2 separate regions of the Homo sapiens genome follow, and region 1 is linked to region 2. Evidence: promoter capture Hi-C in human tissues and cell types (Jung and others, 2019). All regions are on one chromosome and are shown on one strand. The core of a region is centred on a gene start or on the middle of the fragment in contact, and the rest is flanking DNA. Distances in the headings are between cores, read along the strand shown. Region 1 has its middle 42 kb from the start of DSC1. Region 2 holds the start of DSG4 (desmoglein 4).

What was found. Contacts are between HindIII fragments. The study calls those that stand out against the background at their distance.
Region 1: a fragment that was not itself captured here is called in contact with the fragment with the promoter of DSG4 in region 2 in 3 of the 25 tissues and cell types used here (mesenchymal stem cells, mesendoderm cells and thymus).

What each region holds. Positions count from the first base shown.
Region 1 is chr18:31,203,414-31,206,113 of GRCh38, forward strand. No RefSeq gene overlaps it. Among named protein-coding and RNA genes, the nearest start is that of DSC1, 42 kb to the left of the region's middle. The HindIII fragment of the contact is 5,385 bases long and covers 1-2,700 here.
Region 2 is chr18:31,375,405-31,378,104 of GRCh38, forward strand. DSG4 (desmoglein 4) reads left to right here and starts at 1,373. Exons shown (of 16, transcript NM_177986.5): 1 at 1,373-1,555. The coding sequence starts at 1,508. All of the region lies in intron 1 of DSG1-AS1 (DSG1 antisense RNA 1), which reads right to left. The HindIII fragment of the contact is 6,705 bases long and covers 1-2,700 here.

The sequences.
Region 1 (2,700 bases), core at 176-2,675, 170 kb before region 2:
GCAACAGAAGAAAGCTCTCCACAGCAGAGAGGGGTCCCAAGAGGGTTTCCATTTTTACAGTTGAATGCAAAAGTTTGTATAAGAAACTTTCTTTATCTGTATAGCTGTGTAACTTCCCCTGTCTATATAGCTGCTTGTGTAACTGCCCTTTTCTGTGCAGCTGCGGGCGTGTCTTACGCAAGCACAGGGAGTAACACTTCTGTTGTCTGAGCAACTGTAGGCATGTTTTAGGCAAGCCCCCCGCCCCATGTAAGTTCCCAGGGAGCCCACCATGTACAGGTCCATGAAAGGAAAAGAAACTTTTTCCTAGGCGCCCGCTGATTACACAAAGAATAAAGGTGTTTCTATGTTGAGCTTTGCTCCCTTATCTGTGCAGCTGCAGCTTGATTTTCCAGGCTGTTTCTCTGTTTAAATCCTCTGCTGAGGACTTGCCTTAACTGTTTTTTTTTTTTCTTCCTTTCTCTTCTTTCATAAGGATGGCCTCAAACTCACTCGGTGGTCTTGAGCAAGCTGCTTACCTGCTCTGCATTTTGATGTTTTTTTCTATAACGCGGAAAATAAGCAGAGCACCCTGTGCGGGGTTGCTGAAAGGATAAAATGAGTATGCAAACACCTTGGACAGAATCACTCTATCGAACATGCTTATATTCCTCCTTTCTGATGCACTGAACACCTCTGGTTGCTGAGTTGTAAGACAGAAATGAGACTAAATACCTGCTTAACTTAACTAAATACCTGCTTAACTTAACTAAATACCTGCTTAACTTAACTAAATACCTGCTTAACTAAATACCTGCTTAACAAACCTCAGATATTGCAAGAACTTAATATTTCAGAAACATTCACTTAGAAATATGCTTTTATGAAGTAAAATTATTTACAAATAACTAAAATTATGAGTACCTTGGGGAAAAGTGTATTTCATAACCAGAAAAATCACTTCCCCTAAGTTTATCTGCCTCATATTTTACCAGTTTCATGATGTCGTAAAAATTATTTCTACATGTAAGCATACATAGATTAAATATGATATTCTATTTATTATATTTAGAAAATGATCGTATTCTCTTTCTCTTTGTTAAAGGCCAACTCATTCCCTTCACTTCCCACATTTTTTTTAAACAGAAGTTTCCAATCAAGCCATTTATTTCTAGAATGTTACCGGCATCACCTATAAACAGGAGCCATCTACTGTCATGTTTAATATTGCTTGTGTTTCATAAATTGCTTGTATTTCATTACTGCTTGTATTTCATAAATTGGTGCAAATACTCAGAACTTGCAAAAATAATTACCATTCAAAACCAAGAAATAAAGAAATAATGATATGCTTGTTTGTAGTATTATGACTAAATACAAATTTACTGGAAAGCTCTGCTCATAAACTCCATTTTCTTTCTGAGAAGCTGGCTTCACAAATTGGAAAATAATACTTTTATGCATATATTTTCTCATTCAACAAATATTTGTAGAAAGCCTGCCCTGCTGTGTGCCAGGCACTGTGTTAGGCCTGATACAATGATAAACAGGAGAGGGGATACAATAACGAATAGGAGAGTTGTGACCTCTGCCCTCAGGAACAGGGCACTTGTGGTGCAGACAGATAAGTAAACACACTGCCATGTGTGAGGAGCGCCAGGGCAGGGAAAGGGGAATGTGCCCTGGGAGCACACACCAGGAACCCCAGACCCACACTTCATGGTTGCAGGTAGGGAAGGTTCGCTGGTGGGAATGACCTTTAAGCTATTCTCTGAAGGATAAGGATTACCAAGTAAAGGGGGAGATTGGAGTGGCGGAAAGGATAGAGAGTGTTTCCAAAAGAGGAAACAGCATCCATGAAGGTATACAGGAGAGAGACAATGGTATATTTAAGAAACTGAGAGAAGGTTCATTTGGCATGAAGCCAGCATGGAGTTCAAGGTGGAGAGTACCAGGAGATAAGAATAAAGAACTAAAGAAGATCCAGCTTGTACAGAGTTATGCTAGTAGTACTTAAAAATTGGGCTTTTATCTAAGGACAATGAGTTCCAACAAGAATAGTAACATAACAGGTTAGGGAGGTTCATTTAGAAACCACTGACATCCACTAGAATATGCAGAGGCTTCCTAACACTGTCTGGCATTCTTCTCTGCTGGAACTCTTTGTTAGAATACATGGACATGGTCACTGCAGCCATGTAACAGGTTAAAATGAAAAGCACCTTTGTCGACGTCTCTTTTTCCAAACAAATATTGACTTCAGCAAAAGAGGTTTCATCACCTTCTGCCCACCTGTGTCTTCTCCCACTATTGCACATCTTTGGCCACATCTATTATCTACCTGTCTCCGGAGACACTCTCCTCTCTGCAAGGGAAACAGGGGAATTGTCCTGGAAGGTCAGTGCTATAGGGTTAAGAGGAACTATAAAACATGTCTCACCAGGTACAATGGCACGTGCCTGTAATCACAGCTGCTCAGAAGTCTGAGGCTGGAGAATGGCTCGAGCCCAGGAGTTCAAGACCAGCCTAGACAACATAGTGACACCCTATCTAAAAACAAACAAATAAATAAATATTAAAATACATTTAAAAAAATTACTCTAATATTCAAAAAAAGTTTCTCAAGCCAAAAGGAAAGCCTTCAATCCAGCCTCCATCACACCATTTCATAAAGGTAGAATACGTGGTGCTTTTTACACATTGCTTTATAAAACAAAGCAG
Region 2 (2,700 bases), core at 123-2,622:
AAAATATAAGAAAAATCTTATATGTAGAAGAAATCATCTATAGTGTAAACAAAAGATAGAGACCTTTGTGAAATATCTCCTTCAAACACAACAATAGAGAAGAATGTTGTTTTTCCCTTGTAAAAAGCAATGTCACTTAAAGACCTGGAGTTGTTTCATTAATTCTCTTAGGCAAATTAAATTATCTAATTCAACATGACATGAAATAATGCAAAAGTAAATTACTTTATCTGGCTTCCAAAAATACTAAAACTACTTTTCTCAAGAAACTAAGCAATACTTAGAATACATTCTATTACCAGGGTCAACCTTGTTTCTGAATTACAGTGATGGGATAGTGAAGACAGGAGGCAGTCTCCCTTTGAAATTCTCCAACCAACATGTATTATCTATCAATCAGAGAACAGTTAACTGCATTTTCTTTTAAGTTTATTGATGTTGCTGCCAGCCTGCAATGTTTGCATCAGGACACTCTATACCCTGTTTCAAACCCATACTAACAAAGGAAAAGGGAGACACGAAAAAGGGAAATAATATTCAAAAATATCCAGATCCCACTCTGGGCTTTTTTTCATTAAATTCTCACGTTTCCAACTTCAGTTTCTCCTTAATAAATATTTGTGGTGGTGTAAAATGTGTTCCTCACCCACATTATGTACTTTTTATCAGTGGTAATACTATGAGAAGTGAGAATGTTGTATTGTAGTTACTTTAAAATGATTTTGTAAATATCATATTGTAGAGGTTTGACTGAATAATCAAGAAAGAAAATGCCAAAGTATGGAAACAAACATACTGGTACTAGTTAAATCAGAGTTCCTTCATCTTAACTTTGTTATTTCAGAAAATCTTTAAAATTGAGAGTGCGGTTCAACCACAAGACATTTTAAAGAGAGAAGCAGGACTCAACTGAATTGAAATGAGCGTCATTATTCTATCTTTCTTCCTATACCATACTTGAGTCCTGATGACTTTCAACAATGGCCTCTGCTAAAAGTATCATTCCTTGAAGTGGGTTCTGCAGTGGACATGTGTGTGTATGTGTTGTCAGTATATGTAATTTTGCTTTTACAATGTTGGCAGTAAGAAGAAGCCTTCTAATTTTATTCAGCATGATGATAGGCCCTAGCATTTTAATTATTTTTTATGTTGTGAGTAATTTATTATTCACTGGCTATCTTCCCTGTAAATCTTGTCCTCGCTCTGTAAGGTTTTTCTTTGGTGTCCAACAAAGGGTTTCATTGCAATAAGAATCAAGGTGTGTCTAAATTCTTACCCAGAGCCCAAACAATGCCAGTCTTCCAGACCAGCCTGGGAGTTTGGGGTGGGGAAACAGTCATTATAGAATATCTTCATCTCTCTGCCCAGAGATCACCACAGTTATCACCCATGCCCTCCTAAAAGGGTGTCTCAAAGCATATCTTTCTGTAGAGCAGAATTCGGAACTGAGAAGACGAGGGCTCAAATTGAATCTCACAGGATTTGCGTGCAAGAGAAACCCAAAGGAATGGATTGGCTCTTCTTCAGAAACATTTGCCTTTTGATCATTCTAATGGTAAGTAGAATTTAAAGAGGTGGGAAGGAAATGCAGCCTCAAGGTCTTGTCTCTGTCAACTGTCGGGCTTTCTACATGGGATTTATTCCATTTTTAATCTCCTTCCTGCAAAGAGAGTTCTAGAAGTCCAGCCTCTGTTAATTTCAAACAACTCTCTCCGCCTTGAGGAACAAAATGCCATAGAGAAGCGGGGTGAGAATCTGGCTGAATTAAATTTATATGCCCTCAGAGACATAATCTACTTCACTTTGAGTGTTAGGACTATTCTAAAATTTTAAATTGGAAATAAAATTCATATTCTATGATCATATAAATAAATCAGATAGATTGCTGTGAAAACTGCCAGTGCAAATGGGTTCTAAATTTGAAGGGAAGTTAATCAAACCCATTTCTTTTCAATAGTTATTTCCCTATGAGTTTCTTTCAAAGTGGAGGAATGATAGCCATGTTGAAATTACATTGCAACTAATGATGACATACTAAAGTCATGAGAACTTTTTCCAGTCAGATATTGCTAAAGAAAAATGAAGCCCAGCCATCAAGACAAAACTTTTCTGGAATTATGAATGCATTCCTACAGACCAGCAAAGAAATATTTAAATGACTTATTTCTTTACAGTAAACATGGCATCTTGGATATTATATTTCTTTCCTCTAACCTTTGGGTGCCCAAGGTGTGACATGATTTCCAGACAGGCAGCATGCATAGCAAATATCCTACCCTAGAAAGAGATAATTCCAACTCCAAAGAAGAACAAAGTTCCAGTTGGCCAATCAACAAACTATTGCCAATTCTGGGAGGGTAAGAGGACAGGATTATTAGGAACTGTACAAATTTTTCAAAGTAAATTAAGACAAATGCATTATAGTTGGCCACACTTCAATCTCCCAGGAGTATCCAGGTTAGCGCTACAACCTAAGCTTAGAAAGTGATTCCCATCCTATTCTTAGGCAAGTGGCAATTATACCAGACTCCTCTGAACATCAGTTGTAAGAGACAGAGAGTAGCTAGGGCTGGGAGAGATGGGAGCACGTCATTGTCCAAGAGGCACAGTGAGAGCTACTCTTCTGGAATTCACATTTCTAAACTTCAAGAGCAGTGCGGGAGCCGAACACTGCCAAAGGGCACACAACCCCAAGCTCAA